Regions from separate parts of the Homo sapiens genome. Here region 1 is linked to region 2. Evidence: promoter capture Hi-C in human tissues and cell types (Jung and others, 2019). All regions are on one chromosome and are shown on one strand. Each heading gives the region's core, a stretch centred on a gene start or on the middle of the fragment in contact. The rest is flanking DNA. Distances are from core to core; before and after follow the strand shown. Region 1 holds the start of TRL-CAA6-1 (tRNA-Leu (anticodon CAA) 6-1). Region 2 holds the start of DUSP12 (dual specificity phosphatase 12).

Evidence for each region. Contacts are between HindIII fragments. The study calls those that stand out against the background at their distance.
Region 1: a fragment that was not itself captured here is called in contact with the fragment with the promoter of DUSP12 in region 2 in 1 of the 25 tissues and cell types used here (H1 embryonic stem cells).

The regions. Positions count from the first base shown.
Region 1 is chr1:161,611,706-161,615,921 of GRCh38, forward strand. TRL-CAA6-1 (tRNA-Leu (anticodon CAA) 6-1) reads right to left here and starts at 324; the gene lies at 241-324. RefSeq lists enhancers at 81-775, 776-1,469, 1,214-1,263. The HindIII fragment of the contact is 6,825 bases long and covers 1-4,216 here.
Region 2 is chr1:161,747,522-161,751,385 of GRCh38, forward strand. DUSP12 (dual specificity phosphatase 12) reads left to right here and starts at 2,265. Exons shown (of 6, transcript NM_007240.3): 1 at 2,265-2,624. The coding sequence starts at 2,281. RefSeq lists enhancers at 263-342, 443-492, 2,064-2,573, 2,635-3,281. The HindIII fragment of the contact is 4,457 bases long and covers 1,393-3,864 here.

The DNA of each region.
Region 1 (4,216 bases), core at 1,649-4,148, 140 kb before region 2:
GAGTCCAAAGTTAAACTTAGTCTCAACTGCTCCCTGTTTTCATAGACCAGACTCCAGCCTACAATACAGGAAAAATAGATTTAGTTCTATATGTGCAGAGAAGCACAAATAATTTTCGTAAATGTAGATACCCAGGATAAAACGCAGTGTTGACCGATCGAAAAGTCTTTCTCTAAGAATTCAAACATAATTGCTGGTTGGTTCAAATCAGGAGGAAAAGTAAGGATGGAAAACATACGTTGTCAAAAGTGGGATTCGAACCCACGCCTCCAGCGGAGGGTGCGATTTGAACGCAGCGCCTTAAGACTGCTCGGCCATCCTGACACACGTTTTGCTAAACTTCCTAATTTCTCCTAATTTTATCATATACTGATGGTGCACGCTATCAGGTCACATTAATGTGTCTATTTACTGTTTCAAATAAAATTGTAACTCTCTCTAGACCTTGTCGCAAAGCGGGAAAAATGAAACAGCCTCCGACAGCTCTTTCCTCTTTCCTCACTACCCAAACTAAACCTTAAGGCTCCATTTTCCCTGGCGACTCTTCGAGCGCCCCTCTGCTTCTGTAGAGGGGTCGAGCCATGTCAAGGTAGACCCTGTGTCGGCCCGTCTCCCTCGGATCCTCCGCACCAATCACTGTTGCTGAATCCGACACCCGGCGGATCCAGTGCGGAGTCTCGAACAGCTGCGGAGCTGGGAGCTACGGGACATGAGGAGTGCGGGGGGGAAGAGAAGACGGCGGAGGAAAATCCCCCGGCGGTGCTCAACTGCGGCTTTCTCTCTCGGCTGTGAGCCGGCTCCGCCCTCCGGCTTCCAGAGCAAGTGGCTTCTGCGTTCACCGCCCCCCGCCGTTTGTGGGGCGGGGCCGATTCATAAGAATCGGTTCTCACCAATGGAGGGCTTAGCATGTTTAACCTCAGGATCATAAACAAAAGACACTGCTAGAACGGTCGGGAAAGTCATACGCTTTGCTTATCTTATATATAGATTTCTAAAATTCCAAACCGGGGACGCGTTGGTGGTGTAGTGGTGAGCACAGCTGCCTTTCAAGCAGTTAACGCGGGTTCGATTCCCGGGTAACGAAACGTTTTTGTCTTTCCTTCTACGAAAAACTTTTCTGAGCCGGAGCCTCCAGCGCGCTGTGTATTCGTTTTACGCCTCAACGAAACTGCAGCAATACCTCACTTTCCGTACTCGCTTCCTGTCTTTCCCCTGGCCTCTTTCTAAACCCAGGCTTTTTTTGAAGGGATTAAATTCTGATGGTTCTTTCCTCCCTTCCTTCCTTTGTAAACTTCCAACTCTTGAGGAATCTTTGGGATCATTTCAATCCTGGGATGAGTCTTAGCTTCAGAAAGGGGCTCTTGTGTCTTCACTTGCGAGGTTCATTCGCTAGCCTCTACAAATCATCACTTAAGCCCCTAATTATTCCCGGCCGAGGTCCTAGGCTAAGGTCCCGGGCCAAGCTTTCTAATTAGTCCCAGGCCAAGGTCCCAGGCCAACCTAAATCACGCATTCTCCAAAACAGCCGGCAAACTAAGCACATTCCTTCCCGTTTCCAGTCCATAAACCCCCCCCCCCAAGTGGCCTCATAGTAAGCAACTCATTCGGGCCCCCTCTCTGCTGGCAAAAAGCTCAGATGTACTGGACTGTGCATTTGATTTGGAACTGAGTTACATGGGAGAGAAGCAGGGATTCAGTTTGGCTGGGAATCAAACTCTTTTGATAATTTCCTAATAAACTGATAGTCATTAGATGACTTGTAGTCTCGATAAGTTGAAACTTTTTCCTAACATGCTGTTTATGATACTGAGTTCTTTGTCACCGGTTGAACTAACAGCAATTGTATTCACAAATTTTCCAGCCTTTAAAATACTGTCTGAGGGTTTTATGTATCCGTTATCTTTTATTATACAAAAGTCATTTATTGGAATGACATATATAATTAGATTGACCCTAACCATTCAGGCTGGATGAGGCAACACAGTGTGAAGATTAAGTGCATGGGCTCTGTTGTGCTTCCTGTGTTTGAATCTTGGCTCTCTTTGTCTCCATTTCCTCCTGTAAAAGAGGATAATGATGATAATTTTAATTCTTCAATGGGTTAATATATAAACATATATTACAAATGTATAAACATTGCCAGGAGGGTCCATTGTTAATGCCTGTAGTGGGATGATGTTTGAGATTTTAAGTCTCATTCCCTAAAATGGAGGTGAAATTCAACAGGGATGGGAAGAAAGAACATCTGCACCTCAGCCACCCTTTAGCTCCAAACCTCCCTTATGCTCTCATCTGCCCCACAGCCTCCATCCTGTAACAAGAGGACCAGCTGTGCCAGTGGAGGCCACAGCATCTAGCTTATGCCTCCAATGTAACCTGTTACTGCCCACCTGTTCTCCCTGATATTCTCTGACTCTTAGTACTAAGGTCCCACAGAGGCTGCAGTGCCCACAGGCAAGAAGAACCAAAGGGTAGTACTGACTGGTAGTGGCTAGCCACAGCTGTGTGGGGCCAGATTGACACTGCGCAATCGCTAAGTGGATCAGTGTTCAGGCTGCCCTGTCTTGGGAGACATATAGGGACAGGGACCTATAACCAACACCTGCCATAGGCTGGCTTCAGTTAGCCCTTCACGTTGGGATTCACTGAGTGGTTTTTCTGGAAGTGGCCACCTAGAGTTCCCTGTGGCCAGCCAAGGTATGGGGGCTGGCTTTTTGGGATGTCTAGGGAAAGCCAAAAGCAAAACCCAGAAGATAATTCTTTTTGTGGAGGAGTTAACAGATATAGCACTGACCAATCAGAATAGCCACTGGCTATACATTTCCCCATTATAACAGGATTCACTGCATTCCATAAATTTTGTTTTTTTAAATTTCCAAATATATGAAGGCTTTTAAAAGTTATTTTTTGTTATTGATTTCTGAGTTAAATTCCTTATGTTCAGAAAATGTGCTTCATATAGTACTGATTCCATGACATATGTTGAAGCTTACTGGCCTTAGCCAGGTGCGGTGGCTCAAGCCTGTAATCCCAGCACTTTGAGAGGCCGAGATGGGTGGATCACTTGAGATCAGGAGTTCAAGACCAGCCTGACCAACATGGTGAACCCATCTCTACTAAAAATAAAAAATAAATAAATGAAAAATATTAGCCAGGTGTGGTGGCACACGCACCTGTAATCCCAGCTACTTAGGAGGCTGAGGCAGGAGAATCACTTGCACCCAGGAGGCGGAGGTTGCAGTGAGCTGAGATAGTGCCATCATACTCCAGCCTGGGTGACAGAGCAAGTCTCCATCTCAAAAAAAAATAAATAAATAAATAAAAGAAACTTATCAGCCTCATATAAAGTCAGTTTTCATAATATCCCATGTGAGTTTGAGAAGAATGTACAACTAATAATTATTGATTGCAGTTCTATATATATATATCTGTTAAATTGAGCTTGTTAATTGCATTCATATGCTTAATAAAAGTAAATAAGAAAAAGAGACACACGCTTAATAATTTTTTTCTGTTTGATCTAGTAAGGGTTGAAGTATGCGGAATTCTCTCACTGTGGCGACGGATTTGTTCATTTTCCCTTGTAGGCCTAATTCTTGCTTTCATATTTTAATGCCATTTTATCTGTTATATATTCATCAGTAGTTTAATCTTTTATTATATGATGACCATCTTCATCCCTAATGATGCATTATTTCTTAAACTTTATTTTGTCTGATATTGTATAGCTATATGCCAACTTTCTTTTTGTTAGAATATTCCTGGCATTCCCTTTTCCATTTAGTCTTTCTGTTTCTTTACATTTTAATGTCATTCTTCTAAACAGAATAAAACTGATCTTAAAAATTCACTTTATCTTTTAACTGGAAGGTTTTGTTCAGTTGCATTATTATAATTACTGTTATAGGCCGGGTCATGGTGGCTTACACCTGTAATCCCAGCACTTTGGGAGGCTGAGGCAGGTGGATCACTTGAGGTCAGGAGTTCAAGACCAGCCTGGCCAACATAGTGAAACCGCATCTCTACTAAAAATTAGGTGGGTGTGGCGGCATGCACCTGTAGTCCCCAGGAGGCTGAGGTGGGAGAATCGCTTGAACCGGGAAGGTGGAGATTGCAGTGAGCCAAGATGCTACCACTGCACTCCAGCCTGGGTGACAGAGACTCTGTCCACCCACCCTCCAAAAAAAAATAGCTGATATATTTGAATTTATTTCAC
Region 2 (3,864 bases), core at 1,015-3,514:
TATGCAGACACTTTAAAATTTGATATAGTCCCATTTGTCTATTTTCGCTTTTGTTGCCTGTGCTTTTGGTATTTTATCCAAAAAATTGAGGGAGAAGAAAAGGAAAAATCAGTTAGGTAGACAGCTAAGGCTAGCCCTTGGAGAAGCAGTCTGCCTGAAAAATCACAGCTACAAACAAAATAGAGCAGCTTAGGCAAAACTCAGGCTGCACCTGCACAGATAAGCAGGTAGGGTCCAGCACAGACGCTTTTCATTCTTCGTGTAATTGGCGAGCTCCCAGGAAAAACTTTCCTCCCCTTTTCAGGTATATACACAGTGGACTCCGTGGGAACTTGCACAGGAAGGAGGGGGGCTTACCTAAAACAAACCTACAGTGATACAAACAAGAGAACCCACGCTTTGTGCTTGCCTAGAGACATACCCACATCGGCAGAAGATAAGGGAAGTTGCACAGACAGATTTATTCATAAGAGAAGTTACTCAAACAACTATAGAGATGAGAGGAGTTTCTTATAATAGGTTTTGAATTCAGCTGTAAAAATGGCACCCCACTTGGGCTCCCCTCTCTGCTGTGGAGAGCTTTCTTCTTTTGCTTATTAAACTTTTGCTTCAACCTCACTCTTTGTGCCCATGCTCCTTAGTTTTCTCGGTCGTTAGACAAGTTCGGATAACACCTTAGACAATGAGACCATTAACCCTTACCTGTTTCAACATTTTTATCAAATCCAAGGCCATGAAGCTTTCCCCCTATGTTTTCTACTAAGAATGTTATATTTTTAGGTCTTTAATCTATTTGGAGTTATTTTTTGTGTATGGTCCAAGGTAAAGGTCCATCTTCATTCTTTTGCATGTGGATATCTAGTTTTTCCCAACACTGTTGAGGAGATTGTCCTTTTTCCATTGTGTGGTCTTGGCACTCTTTTTGAAGATTATTCTAACATATATGCAGTGTTGCAGGTGATTAGCAGCTTTCTGGGCTGGTGACATGGGTGGTAGGAAGAATTTACCAACACAGTTGTAGGTAAAGAAAGGCAGGTTTATTAGATAAAGTATGAAAATACATTGCAAGGGTGCAACAGGCAGGTCAGCAAGAGAGAAGCTGACTGCTAGGAAACAAAGGCTTGCTGGGGATTTTGTAGAATGGTGCTTATGTTGTGGGTGGAAGAGGGCTTTGTGCAGTACTAATAATGCCAGGGTTGCAGTGAACTAACTTCCATTTTTCTATCAGCTGAGGGTCTGGTGATGGCTGGGCACAGGCAGATTGTGAGTTATTTGCACAGCAGGGCTATGTGTCCTGGACCACGAAGAAAGGCAGACTTATGGCTTGTCTGCTTTCTCCTTTTGCTTCCCTTCGTCCAGCCAGCCTGACTCCTTTTCCCTAATTAGGACTCCACACGCAAGGGTTTGTTCTGTTCCAGAATAGAGACACGTCGATGTATCTATCTTTATACCAGTACTATAGCTGCTACTTCTTGACCAATTACAGCTTTAGTATCTCTCTCACCTGTCCTCCCTATACAAAAGATATATAAAATATACTCACTGTACTGAGTATCTTCCTGCAGCATTCAGTCTGGAGCAAAGCCTGCTTCCTTCAACCCTTTCCAAAATCCCCAAATAAAAGCCCAAAATCTGTAGAGGATCTTCCTAACATCCTCGTGCTGAGATGCCCTGAAATTCTCCATAACTCATGACTGAGTAATAAAACCAACTTGCTTAATTAAAGTTGGTTTCTTGTAGTCCTGGCCGGAGGACATTGACTTACAAAAATATAGGATTAGTATCTTCAAAATAAATAGACAGTAAACATCAACAAGGATTCACACCCCAATAATGAAATTGGGCAGAAAAAGGAAAAATAATCATGAAATGCACAGTAAAGATGGCTCCATAATATTGAAAAAAATTTTACTTCAAATGCATAAAATGATGCTTCTGATTCAGCTGGTGCGACATTTATTTCACATTTGAGTTCAGCTGCTCCTGATGTCTCTTTCCTGAAAATTTCAATACTAAGAGCTCGAGAAACCCTGTATTTGGGGAAGCTTATCCTTCACCATCAACTTTGGGGGTAGGGGTCAGAGGGAACAAGGGTGGAAAGGCCGCGCTGAATGGGGCCGAAGCTCCGCCCCTCAGCGATAAGTCCAGATTCCTGCGGCCGACGTGGTCCTCCGAGGGAGCAGCAGAGCCGCCGAGGCTGGCGAGTCCCAGGGGAAGGATGTTCTAGCCGGAGTCTACTCGATGGTAGGGCAGGAAGCCGCCTTGTCTCTGGGCGCGGCCATGTTGGAGGCTCCGGGCCCGAGTGATGGCTGCGAGCTCAGCAACCCCAGCGCCAGCAGAGTCAGCTGTGCCGGGCAGATGCTGGAAGTGCAGCCAGGATTGTATTTCGGTGGGGCCGCGGCCGTCGCGGAGCCAGATCACCTGAGGGAAGCGGGCATCACGGCCGTGCTAACAGTGGACTCGGAGGAGCCCAGCTTCAAGGCGGGGCCTGGGGTCGAGGATCTATGGCGCCTCTTCGTGCCAGCGCTGGACAAACCCGAGACGGACCTACTCAGCCATCTGGACCGGTGCGTGGCCTTCATCGGTCAGGCCCGCGCTGAGGGCCGTGCGGTGTTGGTGCACTGGTGAGTGGCCGGGTCAGTGGGTGACGTGCCCCGCCAAGCTTCCAGCCGGCCCCCGTCGCCCCTTACCTTCCGAGGCCGTCGGGAGGACAAGAGCGCGGTCATGCCGCGTGAACCTCCTCCCGCTGCCTCCCGCAGGAGGCGTGTTTCCAAGAGAGGAGGAGGGTTGAGGCGGGCCCCTGGTGTGTGCAGGCTTTCATTCATTCATGCTTTAGTTGGTTCTTCCTGCAGCAGCAGAGGGCGGGGGAGGTGTCATCTGATAAATGACAAATTACCTACACCCTAAGGAGTTTACAGCTCTGTTGGAGAAGCTAGACACCCACCCCGATTATTGTAATGCAGATTAGGTTGCTTGGTGTCTTGTAAACGGGATTTACAAAGATTTAGGGTTAAATGTTTTTGTTTGGGATGGGTGGCGGGTGGTTGATGAAGAGATGAATTGGTTTGGATCTAAAGGATCCCTGGGCTTTGCCTAGGGAGGAGATGGTTGCAGCAAAGACAAAAAGAAAATGGGAATCCCGCAGGGCGCGGTGGCTCACGCCTGTAATCCCAGCACTTTGGGAGGCAGGAGGATCACAAGGTGAGGAGTTCGAGATCAGGCTGGCTAATATGGTGAAACCAAAAATACAAAAATTAGCCGGGCGTGGTGGCTCTCGCCTGTAGTCCCAGCTACTCGGGAGGCTGAGGCAGGAGAATCACTTGAACCTGGGAGGCGGAGGTTGCAGTGAGCCGAGGTCATGCCACAGCACTCCAGCCTGGGCAACAGAGCGAGACTCCATCCCTCCCCCCAAAAAAAGAAAATGGGAATCCCTAAGCAGTTCTTGGTTGGATTGGAGTATAATAATCGTTTAAATTTATTGAGCACATAAAAGAAGATAGTGATGAAATCAAAAGAAGTCTGGGACCAGATTTTGAGGTCCCTGAATGCTAAGATGAAAGGAGATTGGATTTGTTTTTGTTTTGTTTTATTTATTTTTATTTTGATATAGGGTCTTGCTCTGTCACCCAGGCTACAGTGTAGTAGCGTAATTACGGCTCACTGCAGTCTCAACCTCCCAGGCTCAAGTGAACCTCCTGCCTCGGCCTCCAGAGTAGCTGGGACTACAGACCCCACCACATCCGGCTAATTTTTTGTAGAGGTGGGGTCTCACTTTGTTGCCCAGGCTGGTCTCCAACTCTTGGACTCAACCAATCCTCTCACCTCGCCTCCCAAAGTGCTGGGATTTCAGGCGTAGGTAAGCCA